Regions from separate parts of the Homo sapiens genome. Here all the other regions are linked to region 1. Evidence: promoter capture Hi-C in 16 types of primary human blood cells and fetal thymus (Javierre and others, 2016). All regions are on one chromosome and are shown on one strand. The core of a region is centred on a gene start or on the middle of the fragment in contact, and the rest is flanking DNA. Distances in the headings are between cores, read along the strand shown. Region 1 holds the start of STK32B (serine/threonine kinase 32B). Region 2 overlaps CRMP1 (collapsin response mediator protein 1). Region 3 overlaps EVC (EvC ciliary complex subunit 1). Region 4 overlaps EVC (EvC ciliary complex subunit 1). Region 5 overlaps EVC (EvC ciliary complex subunit 1). Region 6 overlaps EVC (EvC ciliary complex subunit 1). Region 7 overlaps EVC (EvC ciliary complex subunit 1).

Region 1 (2,881 bases), core at 224-2,723:
AACTGGCTAATGAGGGGCAAAGCAGAATGAAACCTGGGTAGAATGAGCCCAGAGCCCATGCCTGTCCACATTCCGCCCTATGCTTCTTGAGCTAGGGGCCAGCTCTGTGTTCAGGGCATTGCCTGCTGCACACTGGCTACTCAGTGTATGCTTGTTGGTGGAATGAAAGGCAAGAAATATTTATTCATCATTTATTATATGCCGGGCACTGTTGCCTGCTTTTATAAATATTACCTGATATAATTCTCACAGACAACCCAAGGAGTTAATATCAATCAGCCCACTTTGCAGATAAGAACTCCAAAGTGGGACACATTGCCAGTAAATGGTAGAGCCAGCTCTGGGTCATGGTGGGTGGGCCTGCCTCAGACCTTCTCAGTTCTTTCCCACTGCCTTTAAGAGATTTTTTGTTTTGTTTTGTTTTGTTTTGTTTCTGTATGAGTCTCCCCGGCTTCCCTCACCCTTCTCCCAAGAAAAAGAAAGAAGGGGAGAGAACTGGAGAGAGAGACCAGGTAGGGGACGGGGACTGGGGGACGAGATAGGATGGAGAGAGTCACAAAGAACCCCTGCTTTCTATCAAAGCACGGACAGTGGTTCCAGGCGCCCAGCAGATGGCAGGATGTAGCCAAAGATTCCCTGCAGTCCCGGAGAGCTGGGCCCGCAGGACTGCAAGGCAGGGGGACCTGCCTGTCCCTCAGGGAGCGTCCTGGGAACCCGCGCTCGCCCCACACGTCTTGGGGCGCATCTGCCGCACCCCTTACTTAGGCACCCGCAACTGTGGCGCGTATCTCCCGATCCAGGCTCCCGCCGCAGGAGCCCAGGGACCCTCATGCTAGCCTCGCCCCTAAATCGGACGCCGATGCCGCCCAATTTTGGGGGAATCCCGAGACTCATGCCCAGCCATTCCCAGGGAGAATGGTTTGGGGCAAACTATGGCTGTCTGGGGCCTCAGTTTCCCCATGTACAATGAAGGGGTCAGATTAGTATCTAATCTTAAGGGGTCAGAAAGTAAACAGATACTTTCATTCATTAAACACTGAGAAAAACCTTAAGAGGAACAGCGTCGGTTGGAGAGCCAGCAGACACTCCACTGCCCATCCCAATATGAATGGGCAAATACAGGCTAGCGGGGAGTCCTGGGACTCCCTTCGCAGCCGGGGCCGACTAACCACAGACCTAAGAGCCCCTCTACCTCTAGACCTCCGTCTACTGCGCTCTAAAATATGAACGATGCTTTCTTACTGCTGGGTTGTCGGAGGCGGATGTGGGATGGTGCTAACAAAGCGCGTAGCCGAGGCCTGGCCATAGTGGGTGCTGACAAACCGCTTACTGCCTGCAGGGACCGAGCTCCCGGCCGAGGGAGGAGGGCCGAGCAGGGATTCAGATTCTTCCGGGCCGATCCCTTTCTCAGCTCCTTCCGCCCTGCCGCCGCCCACTGCGTGCTGCCTTCGTCCGTCCCCTCCTCCCCCGCTCCTTCCCCTCCTTCCCCTGCTCCCGCGCCGCCTCGCGTCTCCCGCCCGCTGTAGCCGGCGAGGAGCGCCGCACGTTGGCCCCGGCGCGAGGAGCTCCCGGGTTCCCGGGCGGGCACTGGAGTAAGGAGCTGCGAGCGCAGCCCGAGGCGGGGCACGGCGGAAGGCGCGGCGAGAGCGGGGTCCCTGCGAGCGCAGTCGGAAGGGCGTCCAGGAGAAGGGGGACGCCGTCCCCGCCCCTGCACGGTGCTCGGCCCCCTCGGGCTCCGCGCGCGGCTACAACCCGGACTGGGCGCGCCCCCGGCATCCCGCATCTCTGCGCGCGTCCCACATCCCGCATCCGGCATCCCAGCGGCCGGGCATGTAGCAGCGGCAGCAACGGCGGAATATGGGCGGGAACCACTCCCACAAGCCCCCCGTGTTTGACGAGAATGAGGAAGGTAAGAGAGCGAGAGGTGCGAATTCCCGCTTCGCGGGGCATCCCCTTCCTCCACCACCCTCGGCCGAGCCCTGCGGGGCACCGCATGCTGCCCGGCGCGGGGACCCAGGCATGGCCACTTCGCCCAGCGAATGCAGTGTGTGCCCGACCCGTGCCAGGCGCGGCGCTTCTGCTGAGGCAACTCCTAGGTACCCAGTGCCGTTTAGTAGTCGGGACGGTGCCTAGCGCGGGACTGGGGAGGCGGCTTCAGAGAGTTGAACCCGAAACCTGCACTTGGGGGTGTGGAAGGGAGGAGTTGACTTCGGAGGCCAGTCGGGATGGTTCTAGGCTCGGGCTCCCCAGGAAACCGAGGTTTCCTTGAGAGCCTGAGGCTGACGGAGGTGGCCTGGAAGGGCGGGTTGCACCGTGTGTCTGTGTGTGTGTGCGCGTGCCCACGACGCATTTGGTCTCGTGCAAGGGCCTGTTGGATGCAGCTCTCCTCAATCACCCAGGACAGAGGGAAACTTTTCTTTGCTAAACTCTGTGGTTCCTAGGAGGGCGTCCTGTTCTGGGCAGCCTCCCCCTGGCGCAGAAGTGGTGTAGGCTGTCCAACCGCATCTCAACTTCCTGGCTGGATCCTTGCGGTTCAGGTCGATAGAGCTCCCTATTTGGACTAGCAGAACCCTCTTTCCAGTGCAGCGTGTCCCTGGAAAACTTACTTCACCTCTCTGAAACATTAGTCCCTTCATCAATGAAATGTGAGTTATGATACCACTAGCTACTTTATAGGGTTGTTTGAAGCTTAACCACTAGTAATCCACGTGAAAAGTGCCTTATAAATGCAAGCAGTACCGAGCTGTGCCGTTTTTTATGTTAAGAGCCCTCTGCCTCTCAAAGCTGGTTTCCTACTGTGCTGACTCGCCAGTCTCCACTGTGCCCCAGGTAAGAGCTGAGACATACTGAGCACTTACTATGTTCCAGCCATGCTAGCACA
Region 2 (2,881 bases), core at 121-2,620, 790 kb after region 1:
TTAAAAATGATTACAACGAAGAATCACTTATCTCAGCAGCACAAATAGGCCAGGACTTACCGACTTGTGACTTTTGGCTGTTATGGTCTTCAACTTGTCGGGGTCCCAGATGACCACGTCGGCATCCGAGCCCACGGCAATCCGCCCTTTCCTTGGGTACAGGTTAAAGATCTTGGCTGCATTGGTGCTGGTGACAGCGACAAACTGGTTCTCATCCATTTTGCCAGTAGCCTACAGGCAAGACCCACAGATGAGAAGAGCATCTCATAATGGGGCCAGGAGGAGGGGCAGCTGGGCACAAATGGAAGACTGCCAGCTGAGGCCTTGCAAGGCTTGGAATTCTCTCCTCTCCCAGCTAAAAACGTGCCATCATCAAGAACCCCAGAAGGCCCAGCCTCATCAGAGAGGACATTTAATTAACCGCACAGAGGTATGTTGACGCAAGAGCCACTATGACATCTTGTCCATGTCACCAGGCCCCAGTTTAACAGAAGATTAAAAACCTTTGGTTTCAGGTCAGTGATCAGAGTGAGACCCAGCTCTTCCTCTGCAACAGGAATTCTCTCTCTACCCACTCAACATCCCAACTCCTAACACGTGTGCACATGCACACACACAGCGTTACAGAGCCATTTCCACAGGAACTAAGACGTGGTTGAGAAACAAAACAAAACATTTTTCAATCTTAAGATGTAAAGGACAAGGGTGACATCCACAAATGCAGAGGCCTCTCCCGGACTTGAGCTACTATCTCTCAAGTTATGCGTTCCCTCCTGCGCCCTCCTAGTATATCTGCTTCCGCCTCCATGTAAGAAGGGAACTTTTAAGAACCCAGCGTGCATAATGCATCGGCTTTCACAGGGCAGGTAGAGTGTTTCTAGAATGCTCCTGAGAAGAGATCCAGCCTTACCACCGCCTTGTCCCAGACGACCGTCATCCGCTCCTCTATCCCGTTGACACCCTCGGGGATCAGGGTAAAGTTGTCCTTGCCCACCGCCTTCTGGGCAGTGCTGTAGGGACAGTGGCCGCTGCCTGTGACCTGCAAGTCCCCACTGGCAAGGACAAAACAAGGTAGAGTTCAGACCCTAGTTCATTTTGAAGGCAAATCCTGACTTCAGACAGGTACATGCAGCACAGCCAGTGAATGAATGAATAGATAAGGAAGCCAGTGGGTAAGAGAGACTCTCTAGCGTGTGCCTGCACGTGTCACAAGTCAGGGATGCCCCATTTATGTCACTGGCCTCATGCTTTGCACGTTACAAAGTGAGTAATGTGTGCTGACATTTGTCTTCTTGACATAAGGCAGTTGGCTTAAGGGCTGGCCAGAGTGTTTGTGCTGTGCTTGCAGAACAAACACTATTCATTGGTTACAGCAAAGTGGCACAAGTTCACTGGGATTTACCCTTTTGTCCCCTGGTGTTTTAAAAACAAATACTCTTTGATATATCAGGTGCCCTGAGCTGAACACCTAAGACAATAAAATGAATGGACCAGGCTGAGTGTGGTGGCTCACACCTGTAATCCCAGCACTTTGGGAGGCTGTGGATCACCTGAAGTCAGGAGATCGGGACCAGCCTGACCAACATGGCAAAACCTTGTCTCTACTAAAAAAAAAAAAAAAAAATTAGCCAGGCGTGGTGGTGGGCGCTTGTAATCCCAGCTACTCAGGAGGCTAAGGCAGGAGAATTGCTTGAACCCAGGAGGTGGAGGTTGCAGTGAACCGAGATTGCACCATTGCACTCCAGCCTGGGCGACAAGAGCAAAACGCAGTCTCAAAAAATAAAATAAAATAAAATAATAAAATAAAATAAAATAAAATAAAATAAATAAAATAAAATAAAATAAAAAATGAATGGACCATTATTAGTGGTTCTAAATGCAAGGTGAGGAAGGTGAGGCTGTCCTCCAATCCAGAGGCCCAGGAAATGTTAGCAATTGCCTAGATGCAGAGGAGTATATTTAGAAGTTTTCTTCACTCATTTATTCAACAAAATTGTGTTGCATGCTTCCTATGTGCCCGGTACAATTTAAGGAATGGGGACTGCATCTAAGATCAGAAAGAGAGAGCTTCTGCATGTGTCAGCTATACTGAGGGATGGGGGAGACTGGCAATAAGCAGAGGCGAATGGGGCACATGGGCGCTGTTAGAGTGAGTGTCAGGGATTCAACCAAAGCAGGTGGGGATGAGGCGTGCTGGGGACAGGCTGGAGATGCCATTTCCAGGAGGATAATCAGAAAATTACGTCACTGAGGAGCCTTCTAGCAAAGATCTGAAGGAAGTCACAGAGCAAACCATGTGGCGTCTAAGAAAGAGGGAACTAGCCAGGGGTTCCCATGAGTGTAAAGGCCCCGAGGCAGGGTCCTGCCTGGGGTTCAGGGTCAGCATGAAGCTGGGACTGGACCGAGGGAGCCAAGGGCAGAGGAGGCCCAGGGAGGGAGGTTGGTCAGGGCGTGTGCACCGGATTGAGTTCTGCCTTGTTGGATGTTGCAGGGACTTGGGTTTCACTGGCAGAGGACTTACTGGTTCCAAGCAGAGGGGTGCTTGATCTAATCTAGGTTCTAAATGTCTGACAGCAGACTGTGATGGGTAGGGTGGGGTGGGCCCGTGTGGAAATAGAAAGTCTTGGTCGGAAGCCAGGGATGATGGTGGCCTGAGCCAGGATGGCCACAGCAGACAGGTGAGGCGTTGTCAGACTCTAGGGCCTCTGGTCCGTGTTCCTGACATTTTCTTAGATGGGCAAGACTGTGGGACTAGCAGCTTTATGGGGGAAGATCTGCAGTTCTTTGTAAACGTGAGCTGCCCACCAGACATTGGACTGCAGATGTTGAGTAAGCCCTTGGCTACGCTAGTCAAAGGTTTCTGTATCATCAGGGGGATGGT
Region 3 (2,881 bases), core at 1-2,500, 760 kb after region 1:
GATGATACCAGGGGTGCCACATGGCTGTTACCCTTCCTGTTTGTGTCTCATTTGGCCAGATGAGCCTTGACCTACCTCCACACCCCATTGGCATCCAGCCTGAAGTGTTGGGCAGTCCCTTCTTTGACCAGGGATGGCTGTGGTCATGGCACTTGGATGACCTCCTACCCAAGGAGGGAAACGGGTTTTATTGGTTTCTTAACAACCCATGTCAAAGTAAAAATTGTTTTGATCACCTTTGGCTGCATTTTCATTTAATCCGATTGGGTAAGTTATGGCATCATGATGGGCATGGAGTCAGCGTTCTAACTGGCTGCCTTTCTTCTCTGTTTTAAGCAGCAAAAGGCTGAGTCAGCAAGAAAGTGAAGCTGGGGACAGTGGGAACTCAAAGAAGATGCTAAAGAGAAGAAGCAACTTGTAGTTTAAGACCAGTCGGTGGGACAAGACCTGAAGCCCTGGGTCTGGGTGTGAATTCCACCTTCCCTCCTGCAGTGCTGAGAGGCAGCGAGGACGGAGAGGACAGCGGCATCTCTAGGCTCTTCTGAGAGGGACAGAGAAAGAATAGAAATGTGCCCTAAAAGCATAAATGAGTATCACCTGAGAAAATTAGGCATTCCCGTCTTGGAAACACGTCTCTGTGAGTTTGCATTTCATTTGGCTTGGAGCCCTGGCTCGATGCCTCATGGATCTTTCTCCCCAAGGAGGGACGTCTTGAGGGGTCCGAGCCTCAGGCCAAGGACCCCTGATGCAGACTCTGGAATCCCTGGCCCAAAGGCCTGTCTGGGCCCATCTGGGGCTGAGGACACACAGATACATAATGACACCTGCAGAAATGTATTCTCTGAGGACACTTAGAATATGAGGAAGAGGGTGTGGCCCAACCCTCACTTCACCTGGGGAGGGGCTTCTTCCGGACAGTAGACACCCTGCCCGTGCAGAGAGATGTCATGGGGGCACCTGCTCTCCCTGATAGATGCTGAGAGCATCCAGAAACTTCCAGACCAGCCCTCTCACCACACCCAGAAGAGGCCTTTCCCATCTGGAGAGAAGCTTCCAGACCAGCCCTTCACACACCACAGCCAGGAGGGGCCTTTCCCACCTGGAGAGAAACTTCCAGACCAGCCCCTCATACCACAGCCAAGAGGGGCCTTTCTCACCTGGAGAGAAATTTCCAGACCATCCCCTCTCACCACAGCCAGGAGAGGCCTTTCCCACCGGTAGAGAAACTTCCAGACCAGCCCCTCACACCACAGCCAAGAGAAGCCTTTCCAGCCTGGAGAGAAACTTCCAGACCAGCCCTCTCACTACAGCCAGGAGAGGCCTTTCCCGCCTGGAAACTTCCGGACAAGCCTCTCACACACCACAGCCAGGAGAGGCCTTTCCCACCTGGACAGAAACTTCCAGACCAGCCCCTCTCACCACAGCCAGGAGAGGCCTTTACCACCTGGAGAGAAGCTTCCAGACCAGCCCCTCACACCACAGCCAGGAGAGGCCTTTCCCACCTGGAGAGAAACTTCCAGACCAGCCCCTCATACCACAGCCAAGAGGGGCCTTTCTCACCTGGAGAGAAACTTCCAGACCAGCCCCTCACACCACCGCCAGGAGAGGCCTTTCCCACCGGGAGAGAAACTTCCAGACCAGCCCCTCACACCACAGCCAGGAGAGGCCTTTCCCACCGGGAGAGAAACTTCCAGACCAGCCCTCTCACTACAGCCAGAAGAGGCCTTTCCCACCGGGAGAGGAACTTCCAGACCAGCCCCTCACACCACAGCCAGGAGAGGCCTTTCCCGCCTGGAGAGAAGCTTCAGGCCAGCTCCTCACACCACAGCCAGGAGAGACCTTTTCTGCCTGGAGAGAAACTTTCAGACCAGCCCCACACACCACAGCCAGGAGAGGCCGTTCCTGCCTGGAGAGAAGCTTCCAGACCAGCCCTTCACACCACAGCCAGGAGAGGCCTTTCCCACCTGGAGAGAAACTTCCAGACCAGCCCCTCTCACCACAGCCAGGAGAGGCCGTTCCCACCTGGAGGGAAAATTGCTCCTTTGATGGAGGTTAGGGACTGTCACCCTCAGCACTGTGAACATACCGGGCGAGATCATTCTTCAGGGGAAGGAGCTGCCCAGAGCATCACAGGATGTTCCAGTGTCCCTGGTCTCTGCCCACCAGATGCCAGCACTCCCACCATTCGTGGCAACCAAGGATGTCTCCAGACACTGCCCCGTGTCCATGGGGTTATCACCCACTGTGCTGAGTCAAAGGGTGCCTTGCCCTGGTCTAATCCAGGACATAGCCGTGGATACGTCCAAAAATCCCCAGAACCTAGTGAGCCCTCTGGCTCTGGGAGCCCCTATCTCAGGAATTTTCAGGGTCATTTGTGACTTTTCATTTCTTAAAACCTGAAATAGACTCTCTTAGAAACAAGTGACTCCTTCCCAGTGGCCAAAACTTAATCATCAGAGCGCTTCCTTCAGTTCCTCACCCATCAGCCAGTGGGCTCTCCAAAGTTAACCAACAGCTCCCTCTTGTGGTTCACTAAAAAACTTGGTTATTCCATGGAGTTGTGCAAAGCTATGGCTTCCTTGGTGCAATATTCTTAAAACCTGCTTTGCATAGAAATCACTTTTGCCCAGGCTGGAGTGCAGTGGCGTGATCTCGGCTCATGGCAATCTCCATCTCCCGGGTTCAAGCGATTTTCCTGCCTCAGCCTCCCCAGTAGCTGGGACTACAGACGTGTGCCACCACGCCTGGCTAAATCTTTTTTGTATTTTATTTTAGTAGAGACGGGGTTTCACCATACTGGCCAGGCTGCTCTCGAACTCCTGACCTCATCGTCCACCTGCCTCGGCCTCCCCAAAGTGCTGAGATTAGGCGTTAGCCACCG
Region 4 (2,881 bases), core at 382-2,881, 730 kb after region 1:
GGTAAGAAGAAACTCTGTGGTCTTGTCCATGAGAAGGACAATCATACAACCAGTGCCTGGAAAGGTTGGTGGGTGCTGGAAGGGCAGCAGCAAAGGAGGGGCACCTCTTCTGGGGTCCGTAAGATGACCAGGTTCAGTGGTTCACTAAGACAGCTCATGGACTCAGCCTATAGTTGTACCCATGGCTAAGAGTTACTGCAGTGAAAGGATTCAAAGCAAAATCAGCAAAGGGAAAAGCTACAAGGCGTAAAATCCAGAGGAAACCAGGCACAAGTTTCCAGAATCCTCTCCCCATGGAGTCACACAGGATGCACTTAATTCACATGAGTTGTGGCAGCATGTGTGAAATGTTGTCTACCAGGAAGCTATCTTGAGCTTAGAGTCCAGGGATTCTGTTGGGATCAGTCATACGGGCACATCTCCTTCCTGTCACGTACCAAGAGTCCAGACTCCAGGAAGGAAAGCAGATGTTCAGCTAAGCCACATTGCACCTAATGAGACCCTGTGTTCAGAGTGCCTTGCCAGAAAAGGAGACCTCGAATTGATTTTTGGAACATGTGAGGAGAGTTCCTGGGCAGAGGGGAATGTGGGTGCTCTAGTTGTGTTGGGGCATGGCTTATTCAGGGACTGCCAGCACGTGCTTGGTTGGGGAGGATATGAGATGTGGGTGCAGACCCTAGCGCGACAAAGCCGCTATCTCAGGGAGCTGTGGTCTAGGGGAATGACAGATAAACTGTGGCTTAGATACCCTGGTAGGCTAACCAAACAGCTGGTGGGAGCTCGGGGTCAGAAATGCCCATGTTAGTGGCCCAGGGGAGGCTCCAGAGAAGGGATTATTTTGGAGGGATTTTTCAGGGCGAGGAGTCCATTCTGGGTGTAAAAGTGATTGGAGATGGGGCAAAAGGAGTGGCTTTAAAAAGCTTCTGGGCTGGGCGCGGTGGCCCACACCTGTAATCCCAGCACTTTGGGAGGTCAAGGCAGGCAGATCATTTGAGCTCAGGAGTTCGAGAGCAGCTTGAGCAACACAGCAAAACCTCATCTCCACAAAAAAATATAAAAAATTAGCCAGGCATAGTGGCATACACTCTATAGTCCCAGCTATTTGGGAGGCTGAGGTGAGAGGGTCACCTGAGTCCAGGAAGTCGAGGGTGTGATCACGCCCCTGAACTCCAGCCTGGGCGACAGAGGGAGATCCTGTCTCAAAACAAAACAAAAAGCATCTGCACAATGAAACATGCAATGAGATGCCATTTATGGGTGAATGAACACAAACACCAAAAGCCACCTTTATGAACATGATATGCAGGGAAAGTAGAGACCTGTAAACTGGAGAGAGGGTCACTGCATTCATGGGGATGGCTGTCTGAGGCTGAGAGGGAGGGAAAAGGATTGCAGGGAGCCATAAAGAATTCCAACTTGACCTGTAAAGTTCCATGTTTTTTGTTTTTGTTTGTTTTTATATTTTTTGAGATGGAGTCTCTCTCTGTCACCCAAGTTGGAGTGCAGTGACACAATCTCAGCCCACTGCAACCTGGACCAGCTTCAAGTGATTCTCCTGCCTCAGCCTCCCAAGTAGCTGGGATTACAGACGTGCGCCACCACGCCCGGCTAATTTTTATATTTTTTAGTAGAGACAGGGTTTCACCGTGTTGGCCAGGCTGGTCTCCAACTCCCAACCTCAGGTGATCTACCCACCTCAGCCTCCCAAAGTGCTGGGATTACAAGCGTGAGCCACCATGCGCAGCTATCTGTAAGGTTCCATTTTTTTTTTTTTTTTTTTTTTTTGAGACGGAGTCTCTCTGTCGCCCAGGCTGGAGTGCAGTGGCGCAATCTCGGCTCACAGCAAGCTCCACCTCCCAGGTTCACGCCATTCTCCTGCCTCAGCCTCCCGCTTCCATGTTTTAAATGAAAAAAAAAAAAAAAAAAAAAAAAAAAAAAAGATGTGAGCGGTGGATTCACAGGTGTTTAATATTATTATTATGGTGTGGGTTTGTTTTTCATGATTTTTAGAAAGATATTGGGGTGGGGGAGCGGGGATGAAGGCAACAGAATGATAAGACAAGAGGCAGGACAGCCGGAGCCATCTCTGAGCTGCCTGGAAGCCCTGCTGGGTGATCTTGAGTGTGAGGGGAACAGAGGTCTTCCACGTTATTTGAGGAGGACTCATGATAAGACGTGAAGTTTATGAAAATAACTCACTTAAGCATGGAGGGTGGAAGGGAAGACAAAGAGACCAGTGGGGATTGTGAAAATAATCTAGATGGTGACCCAGGGGAGGCCCTAATGATGGTTTTGAGGAGATGCCAGAGTTAGAGAGCTCACTGTGGGAGGAGAGCAGGTGTGAAGCTTGGCAAGGAGAGCAGATGTGAAGGTTGGCGAGGAGAGCAGGTGTGAAGCTTGGCTGAGTGGGGTTGAGAGGGCTCTAAGGTGACGGGTGCATCCCAAGGCTGTGCGTGTGTGCGTGTGTGTGTGTGTAGGAGTGTGTCTATGTGTGCAAGTATGTATGAGTCTATGTGTGATTCATGTGTGTATGTGTGCACTTGTCTATGCATGGATGTATGTAGGAGTGTGTGCATGGATCAAATGTGAACGAAAGTGTGCATGTGTTCCTGTGTGTGTGCATGTGTGTATATGTGCCTGTGTCTGCATGCATATGTGTATGAGTACATGTGCATGTGTCTGTGTGTACAAGTGTGTGTGCATGTGGGGGAGTTACTTGTCTGTGTGTACAAGTGTGTGTGCATGTGGGGGAGTTACTTGTATGTGTGTCTATGCATGCTTGCATACGTGTGACTTGAGAGTTCCTGTCTGTGGATCTCCTTGTGTCTTGTGGGAGGCTTGTGGAGGAGAGGCAGAGAGCAGCTCAGGCCCCACACAGGGT
Region 5 (2,881 bases), core at 176-2,675, 700 kb after region 1:
TGTGAAATGGGGGCTATGATAGCACCTGCTCTCTCACAGGGTAGTTGAGGGTGTTAAAGACTTGGCAGTATGTAAAGTTTTTAGAGCAGAGCCCGGCACGTAGGAAGCATTCAGTACTTGTTAGTCATTAGAGTCCTGCAGGCCACATGTCAGCAGGAGAAATAGACAGCAAAAAATTACTGTAATGATGCATGGACAGGGCTACACAGTCTATGTTTGTATAGAAGAGGGATGGATTCACTATGCCTGCATACCGGGCACCAAAGGGAAAAAAGATGGCTTCCGTATCTCAGAACACAGAAGAGTTGGAATTCCCAGGGCGGCATCCCATCTTTCTGGCCTGGGCATTTGGAGCTGAAATGTGCATCTGTAAATATTAAAACTGGAAGAGCCCTTCAAAGGGACCCTGACGGTCATCAGATTCAGTTTCTTGAGACTCACAGGAAAAAAAACAGCTGCCAAGACAGATGGGACTGGCTGTAGATAATGGTGAAAACAGCTGACACTCAGGGAGGCTCACTGTTCCCTGGCCGTTGTTCTCAATGCTTCACGTATTTTGACTTACTTAATCCTCATGTCAAATCTGTGTGGCAAGGGTCAGGTGAGGAGCTTGTGCTCAGGTCCTGGGAGCCAAGTCTGAGCCTGGCACTGTTGACTCAGCCACACTCAGAGCACATCAGGGCCCCCTTCCCCCATTCCACATCCCTCTTCTCACGCCACTCTCTCCACTTCCATCCTCCCTCCAATATAAGCACATCGATTGCACCACCACTGCCGAATCCAGCCAGCCTGTGTTGGGTTCTCAACATGCTCTTTAGAGGTGGCCAGAGCCGCCCTTCCCGCGGCCCACCTGGCACCTCCGCTTATCCTCTTGCACCCTCTAGGGTTCACGGGCTGCTGGAATGAGCCTCGCCGTCCTTGTCCATCGCTGGGGGATGTTCTTGCCCTAGTCTTGTGTTGTGGGAACAGAGGCCAGTGCAGCTCAGCGCACAGTGTGGCCATGGCTGGTCAAGGGGACGTGGGCGACTCAGGCCTGGCCCCTGTCTTCAAGGGCTCTCAGTCCAGGCTGGGACTGCCCCTCACAATCACCTCCTCGAAGACAGGAGCCCTGGGGCAGTGGAGAACAGAGTAGGGGACCAGTGAGGGTGGGGACAAGCAGGGAAGGACCACAGAACCCATGAGGACATAGAAGGACCTGGCTGGGCAGGGGAGTGAGAGGAGGCAGTGAGGGTGTTCCAGGAGGAAGGCCCCGCATGTGCAGAGGCTGGGCAGCCGGGACCAGGCAGGTGTGCAGGACAGGGCCCCACAGAACTTCCTGCACCATGCCTGGGGTGCTGGACTTGATCTCAGGGCAGCAACAGGAGGGTTTGGGGCCATGGCTGACAGAACCATCAGCATCTCTGAAAGGTCCGCTGTTCTGTGAGGTGGGGTTAGAGCATGGGGCAGAGATGGGAGGCTGGGGAGCAGGACTGGCCTGTGGCCTCGGCCCAGCACAGAGGTGCCTAGGCCTGAGCTGGGCGTGGCTGGGAGTGGGGGGTGCAGAGTCTGTGCCGAGGGAGATGCCAACGTCCGCCGTCCGCTCCTCCTTTCCCCCTTACTCTCATTCCACAAGCAGCTGCTCTCAGGTGTGCAGGGCCCTTGGCTGCCTCCGGTTGACATTTCCCCCTGTCTTTTCTGAGAGTCCCTGAAATGATGAGGTGGGGCTGGGGAGGGCCTTCTGTAGAATCTGACTGCGGGGAGTCGTGTTGGAAGCCAATCATTCCCCTGAAAATCTCGGCCGTCCTCAGCAGTCAGGCTCTCTGGGGCTCTAACAAAAGCCAGGAACTGCTGGCACTTTGCATTTCCTCCACAGCCCTGTGGGGGCCACAGGGCCAGATTGGCCGGGGGAGATGACTATAAGCCAGGTGGCTTTTCCTCCTTGACCGTTTGTAAATCTGGATTCCCTCCTAGGAGGGTGGCCCTCTGGGGAGCGCTACTGGTGACTAAGTGCCTACATGCTAAGCTGCGTCAGCCTCCCCGCACCCTAGGAGAGACACTTAATCCCCACCTCGGGGGCAGACGCAGATCTCGCTCATGAAGGAGAGGGGGAGTTCATCCCTCTGAGCTCCGCTCTCCCAGGCAGTGCCATTAGTTAATGACCCTGGTGGCTTCTTCTCAGCTGTTAATTAACATGCCCTGGTGGTTCCCAGGACACCCCAGCTATGGTCCTGTGTGTTTCTTTTTGCAGGACGCCCTGGAGAGGACGATGGGGCGGGCGCACATGGCAAAAGTGATTGAGTTTCTGAAGCTGCAAGTCCAGGAGGAGACCAGGTGCCGGCTGGCTGCCATCTCCCACGGCCTGGAGCTGCTGGCTGGTGAGGGGAAGCTGTCCGGGCGGCAGAAGGAGGAGCTGCTCACGCAGCAGCACAAGGCCTTCTGGCAGGAGGCAGAGCGCTTCAGCCGGGGTGAGCCGTGGGCATGGGTGCCGCCGTCCACAACACTGGCCTTCTGGGTCCCTGGGGCTGTGCAGTGAGAGGGCTGGCAGCCTGGGGCAGTGTGCCCATGATGCCGGGCACAGGCTGCCTTTCTGCTTCTGCCCTAGGGACTGGGTCACTGGGCTGCTCTCTGGGGCTCTCTTCCCTTCTCTGTACAGCAGAGTCCATGAGGGCCACTGCCCAGGGCAGGGGTCACCTGCTGCACTCACTCACCAGGGATTCCGGCTGATTGAGTCCCCACGTCCTGCAGCAAAGCCACCAGGAACTGCAGAGGGACAGAGGAGGGTGAAGGGTCTCACTAGAAATTTACACAAAGTGGTCCCTGTCGCCCAGCGGCAGCTCATGGTCATGCTGGAGTCATGTGGCCCTGCTCAGCGGCAGAGTGGGTGAGGGTGGGCCATGGTCCA
Region 6 (2,881 bases), core at 286-2,785, 680 kb after region 1:
TGGCCTTGACTTCAACCAGAGCTGTAGGGGCCTCAGCAGAAAGATGAGTGCCTCCTCCCGGGCTACACCTCCTGCTGGAGATAGAGATAAAAGATATTTAAAAGAGAACAATATGTTTAAAGGAATGATAATAATGATAAGAATATTTATGAGCATGAATTTTCTTGAGTCTTGCTATGTACGAGGTCCCAGGAGTATTACACTTAAACCTCAGCACAACCCAGAGGGGCGGGTGTCATTATCATGTCCACTCTGCAGGTGAGAAAACTGAGGCACAGGGCAGAGGATTTACCCAAAGTTATAAAGCTGCAGGAGTGGCACTGAGATGAGAAGTTCAGTACCTTTTCATGGGGCCACGTGTTCTCTTGACTGAATGAACAAGAACTCAGAACTGTGGATGTGGGGAAAACAACATTAGTCTCTGCCAGATGCACCTGGCCTCTGATTGAATCAGCCACGGACCTGAGCTATGGGAAGCCAGAGAGAGGAGTCCCACTTTAGCCGCAGAACCCCGGTGGGTTTATTCAGGCATCAAGATGACGGGGGTTAAAAAAAAGTGTTATTTCTCCATAAGGCACATTCTCTGAATTACTGAATGAGGAATGAGACCCTACAGAGAGAAGGCAGATGAGAGAAAGAGGAGAGCTAGAAACAGGTGGACAGACACACAGATATGTCTACAGGGCACTCTTACAAACTGGAGAAGAGCAAGAACATCACGTTGGAGGCCAGGCATGGTGGCTCACGACTATAATATCAGGGTTTGGGAGGCTGAGGTGGGAGGATTGCTTAAGCCCAGGAATTTGAGACCAGCCTGGGCAACATGGCAAAACCCTATCTCTACCAAAAACAAAAACAAACAAACAAACAAACACTTAGCCTGGTGCAGTGGTGTGTGCCTATAGTCCTAGGTACTCAGGAGGCTGAGGTGAGAGGAACACTTGAGTCCAGGAGATGGAGGCTGCAGTGAACTGTGATCACACCACTGCACTCCGACCTGGGCAACACAGCGACATCCTGTCTCAAAAAACAAAAAACAAGAATAGCACACTGGGGATGTGCCTGGAAGAAGCTTGGGCTCTGTGTGAGCAGGACTGACTGGCCTCATAAACGGGTGCCAATGTTTGAAACCGTAAATATGCTAGAATTCAAGAACTAGAGCATGGCCCTTCACCCCCTCTATCCCCAGCCCCATGGAGGTCCCTGGATGGGGGCCACCAGGCAGCCTGTGTCCAGCTTTCCTCAGTGAGCTACACCTGGCCCTGGCTGTTTTCTCCAAGGCTCCATGCTTCCTGAGAGGACCAGTTGTTTCTGGGCTCAGAGCCTGTCCAGTTGGCAAGCAGAGTAGTCCTGGCTGGCCTCGCCCCACAGCCAGCGAGTGTCCACAGGGAGCAGCTTACAGTCCTGGAGGGAGCGTTCAGCATCACTCACCATCCAGCACAGGGGTGTGGCCTCTGCACACTGCCAGGCACTGTGTCAGACCCCAGGGGCAGCCTCTGCCTTTGTGGAGCCCACTCTCTGGGGCAGTGGGGAGGGCAGTAAACAGATGTCACAAAATAAACGGTGGCAGGCAGCATGGCAAAGGCCTGTGACAAAGCATCATGCGAGTGTGAAGGGGGCACCTGAGGGAATGCAGAGCTGGGGAGATGGTCAGGCTTCCCTGTGGGGAGTCTCGTGGGTGGAAACCCAGGGAAGTTCCAGGAGCACTGGATTAAGGGACAGTCCTAGACCCTAGTCCACCCTTTGACAATTAGGAGCTGTGTGACTTTGGGTAAGTTGCTTCACCTCTCTGGGCCACTTTAGGAAAGGCTTAAATAAAATATCCTTTCAGCTATTGCTATATGGAGTTACTGGGAAGTCAAGCTGCCCTGCTTTGAGAGGGTTCTGTGGGTAGAACTCTGGGCTCCATATCACAGCTGTGTGGCTGGCATGGTCACAGCAGTGATTATTCTGCACGTACACTCTGGTAGGCTCAGTGCTTTAAATGTTTTACTTTTTTGAAGCTTTACATGCCACTTCACTAACGAGGAACCTGAGGTTCAGAGAGGTTAAGTCACTTGCCCAAAGTCACACAGCTGGTGATGGCAGAATCAGACCTGGACAAGGTCTGTGTGAGTGAAAGGCCCCTGCATGCCCAGGTGTGGCCCTGCACCCTGCATGTTAAAGGTGCTCAGGAGAAATGTGTTGCATGTGTGATTGGCACCGCCCTGAAAGAGCTGCTTCCCAGCAGGGTCCTTCCTGCTCTGGGGAGCATAACTCTATCGTCGTGTGCTGGGACTGTAAGAACCTGGTGAGCCGCTGGGAGCTGTGCTGCCTGGAGACTTAAATACTCTGTTTCCCTGGTAGAGATGAGCTGGGGTTCAGAAGTTATTCAGACCACATGAGACCCTCATGCATCCCAGAAGCTTAGAACTCCCTGGCTGGCCCTGAGGAGGAAGAAACTGGCTCTGGGCTTGTCCAAGAGGCAGGAGAAGCTGGAGTGTAACCTCTATAAACAGAGTGGCCAGGATGAGAACAGATTGGGGGCATGGAGGAAGATTAAATAAAGGGGAGCACCAGCACTAGGGGGTTCTCATGGTGCTAGAATATTACTTTGATTGTGGCTGCACTTACGTGAATCTATACATGGGGTAAAATTGCATAGAACTACACACACACACACACACACACATGCACACACATAAATGTGCATAAAGATGGGTGAAAACTGAAGAAGGTCTGTAGACAGCAGTATTCAACCAGTGGCAATTTCCCAGTTTTGGTACTGCACCATGGTGACATCAGAACCACCCCTGGGGGAGGAGCACACAGCACTTTGTGCCTGCACACCTGGCGTTATTGCATTTCACTTAATTGCGCTTCAGAGATGCTGCATTTTTTT
Region 7 (2,881 bases), core at 285-2,784, 670 kb after region 1:
CTCAGCCTCCTGAGTAGCTGGGACTACAGGCATGCGCCACCATGCCCAGCTAATTTTTGTATTTTTAGTAGAGATGGGGTTTCACCATGTTGGCCAGTCTGGTCTCGAACTCCTGAGCTCGTGATCCACCTGCCTCGGCCTCCCAGAGTGCTGGGATTACAGGCGTGAGCTACTGTACCCGGCCTCCATTGTCTTCTAGCTGTTGTAGAACCAAACTGGGTTCCACTCACCTGGCACAGTAAGACCAGATAGCGACACTGAGGTTTTATAGTGGTAAAAAGGGAGGTGTTTATTCACAGTGCACCAAGCCAGGAGGACTAGGCAGCTCATGCTCAAATCCTGACTGCCCTGATGACTTCCAGGTGAGGTTTTTAAAGGTAGAGGTAAATTTCAGGAAAGCAGAAGTTACAGGCAAAATTGTAAATCAATACATGAAGGTGACAACTGGTTTTGGCCTAAAAGGGCCAGACATCTTGAAGTGGAGGCTTGCAGGTCAGAGGTAGATTCAAAGATTTTCTGATTTGCAATTTTGTGAAGGAAGAGAAGCTTTGTTTTAAAATGTAGGTTCGGCAGAAAAGAACCTTAGCTCAGGCTCCTGGTCATGACTTCCTCTGGGCTCCCCAGGAAGAGCTTTAGAACAAAGAATGGTGCTCAGAGTTCAGATCTCAGATAAGGGGCAGCTGAGGACCTCAGCCATGGATCCTCAGAGTGGATCCATTGGATGGGGGTCCAGGTTTCTGAAAAACAACTCAGGGACATATGTTAAGATGTTATCTTTAGTTTCTGCAGGGAAACCAAACATCTCCTGACTCTAACTTCCTTGGCTATTGTTTTAGGCGACTATTACCTTCTTGCTTATCAAGTTGTTGATAATTTCCCTTGAAGAAAGTCAGGATTTTCCTTTATTTCCAGGCTTAGGGCAAGGGATTTGCAGGCCCTTAAAAAGGGGGGACTCTGCTTCATCTCATAATTTCCATGGTTGCTGTTGAGAAAACTGATTCTATTCTGATCCTTGATACCTTACACGAAACCTCTTTTCCTTTTGTTCCTCTGTAGAATCTTAAAGAACCTTTACCTTTGCTCCTAGTAAATGAAATTGCACCACGATGGTGTTGGTGAAAGTCATTTGTCATCCACGGTGCCAGGCATTTGGAACGTCCTTTTGATCGAGAATCATTTTCTTGATTTCTTTGATGATTCTTTTCCTTTTATACGTTTTCTTCTTCCAAGAACTCCTATCACTTTTTTAGGTTGAATTGGGCTTCCAATCTTAGTCTTTCTCTCTCACTTCGATTCTCTTTGTCTTTTTTACATTATCTTTGGAGAGATGTTTCTCAACTTTATACTTGTATTGAGTTTTTCATATTTTCAATTTTGAAGAGTCATTTTTTTGTTCTGAGAATGTTCTATCCTGTCCTTATTTTATGAATGGAATACCTTCTCTGATCTCTCTGATAATATTTTAGTTGTTTATTTGTTTAAAGTTTTTTTTCCCTGTGTAGTGCGTTCCCTGCTTGCTTTTTCCTTTTGTTTGTTTTGGATTTTATCTTTCATATTAGAGTCTGTCCTCAAATGGCTAGTGACCCTCTAGACATTTTCAAGTGATGCTGATGCTCCCTCTGTGGGATATATATATTTTTTCCTCAATGTCTTTACTGTAGGACTATCTGACTGGGTTCTTCTTTGCAGGACCCTTGTACTGGTCTGCTATGGTTGGTAAACAACCCCCCAAATCTCTGGCTTCATCATCCACCCCAAGACCCACGACAGACTGCTGCATCTACACAGGTTTCTCTCTATGCCCAGCATGGGCCTGCCTCCAAGGCCTTTGCACTTGCTATTCTGTCTCTAGAATGCTCCTCCCTGAGATATCTCAATGGCTCATGGCCTCACTTCTTTTAAGTTCCTTCTCAAATGCCGCTTTGTCCAAGAGACTTTGTCTCCCATCATCCTTCATTCCCCCACCCTCCACTGTTACTCTAGGACATGATTGTCCCTGAATTGCTATGTATTTTTTCATTTGTTTGCCTCTTTCTTCTCTCACTGCAATGTCAATGCCACAAAAGCAGAGGCTGTGTATTTTGTTCGTTACTCTATTCCCAGTACCTAGAACAAGGCCTGACACAAAGCAGATGCTCGATAATAGTAGCTGATTAACTCAGTGACAAACTGGTGATGTTTCTTTAGTGCAAAGATTATATTCATGAGCAGGTAGTGATTAAAGGGGAAGTTGAGAAGTGTCTGGGATAACAGAGTTTTAAATATAGTCTACTCTCCTTATTCATGGTAGTTATGTTCTGTAAACTCACTGAGAACACAGCATTAGCGAACACTGAACCGTTGTTCCTGGGGGGAAAACAGGGTTAGGTTCCTACAAGCCTCTGGTCACAACATTTCCATTAACCAGTCAATACATAGCATAGTTTTATGTATGTTTCTGTTTAAAGATATCTTATTTAATAGATATTTTTAATTTATTAACATTGGACTCACAGACATCAGCTCTGTAACTCACACCTGAATGAAGCTTCTGTAACACACCCATTTCTCCAGAGGGCATGTCATAGTTTTCTTGTGTTTCGGGAGACTAGACAGCACTTCTGCACTGTGTTTGGTGGTTATTTTAAACAGTAAAGTCACCGAGAAAAAGCACAGAAATGCAAAAACTGTGCTACTAGAGTATGAAAAGGATGTTTGTTTACAGCATGAGAGCAGAGACAAGAAGGCAGAGTGCTACTTTGTTCCATCTCAACTGAGCACGTGCATGCTGGGCAACTCAGATTGTTCATGCTCTGCATGTATTTGTGAATAACTGTAAAAGCGCCATGAGCATTGGTTTGGGGGTTCTAAATAAATATTAGCAAGTACAGGAATTGGCAAA

The links. The method cuts DNA at HindIII sites, captures the fragments that hold promoters and counts their contacts. A CHiCAGO score of 5 or more calls a contact.
Region 2: a fragment that was not itself captured here is called in contact with the fragment with the promoter of STK32B in region 1 in 2 of 17 cell types (M0 macrophages and M2 macrophages); the score reaches 6.2 in M0 macrophages.
Region 3: a fragment that was not itself captured here is called in contact with the fragment with the promoter of STK32B in region 1 in 7 of 17 cell types (M2 macrophages, megakaryocytes, M0 macrophages and 4 more); the score reaches 19.7 in M2 macrophages.
Region 4: a fragment that was not itself captured here is called in contact with the fragment with the promoter of STK32B in region 1 in 5 of 17 cell types (M2 macrophages, M0 macrophages, M1 macrophages and 2 more); the score reaches 15.9 in M2 macrophages.
Region 5: a contact is called between a fragment that was not itself captured here and the fragment with the promoter of STK32B in region 1, in 3 of 17 cell types (M2 macrophages, M1 macrophages and M0 macrophages). The highest score is 7.1, in M2 macrophages.
Region 6: a fragment that was not itself captured here is called in contact with the fragment with the promoter of STK32B in region 1 in 1 of 17 cell types (M1 macrophages); the score reaches 5.6 in M1 macrophages.
Region 7: a fragment that was not itself captured here is called in contact with the fragment with the promoter of STK32B in region 1 in 5 of 17 cell types (M2 macrophages, M1 macrophages, M0 macrophages and 2 more); the score reaches 7.2 in M2 macrophages.

Annotation. Positions count from the first base shown.
Region 1 is chr4:5,050,007-5,052,887 of GRCh38, forward strand. It overlaps STK32B (serine/threonine kinase 32B), which reads left to right and starts at 1,474. Exons shown (of 12, transcript NM_018401.3): 1 at 1,474-1,909. The coding sequence starts at 1,858. RefSeq lists an enhancer at 2,176-2,714. The HindIII fragment of the contact is 3,285 bases long and covers 1-2,686 here.
Region 2 is chr4:5,835,855-5,838,735 of GRCh38, forward strand. CRMP1 (collapsin response mediator protein 1) reads right to left here. Exons shown (of 14, transcript NM_001014809.3): 10 at 911-1,052; 11 at 61-231. Among named protein-coding and RNA genes, the nearest start is that of CRMP1, 56 kb to the right of the region's middle. The HindIII fragment of the contact is 3,228 bases long and covers 1-2,881 here.
Region 3 is chr4:5,810,617-5,813,497 of GRCh38, forward strand. It overlaps EVC (EvC ciliary complex subunit 1), which reads left to right. Exons shown (of 21, transcript NM_153717.3): 21 at 337-2,881. The coding sequence ends at 421. Among named protein-coding and RNA genes, the nearest start is that of CRMP1, 81 kb to the right of the region's middle. RefSeq lists an enhancer at 2,366-2,415. The HindIII fragment of the contact is 405 bases long and covers 1,049-1,453 here.
Region 4 is chr4:5,780,629-5,783,509 of GRCh38, forward strand. The region is part of intron 11 of EVC (EvC ciliary complex subunit 1); the gene reads left to right. Among named protein-coding and RNA genes, the nearest start is that of EVC, 71 kb to the left of the region's middle. The HindIII fragment of the contact is 1,426 bases long and covers 919-2,344 here.
Region 5 is chr4:5,750,609-5,753,489 of GRCh38, forward strand. EVC (EvC ciliary complex subunit 1) reads left to right here. Exons shown (of 21, transcript NM_153717.3): 9 at 2,228-2,444. Among named protein-coding and RNA genes, the nearest start is that of EVC, 41 kb to the left of the region's middle. RefSeq lists an enhancer at 2,336-2,881. The HindIII fragment of the contact is 3,697 bases long and covers 1-2,881 here.
Region 6 is chr4:5,733,633-5,736,513 of GRCh38, forward strand. All of the region lies in intron 5 of EVC (EvC ciliary complex subunit 1), which reads left to right. Among named protein-coding and RNA genes, the nearest start is that of EVC, 24 kb to the left of the region's middle. The HindIII fragment of the contact is 931 bases long and covers 1,071-2,001 here.
Region 7 is chr4:5,715,858-5,718,738 of GRCh38, forward strand. The region is part of intron 1 of EVC (EvC ciliary complex subunit 1); the gene reads left to right. Among named protein-coding and RNA genes, the nearest start is that of EVC, 6.1 kb to the left of the region's middle. The HindIII fragment of the contact is 1,981 bases long and covers 545-2,525 here.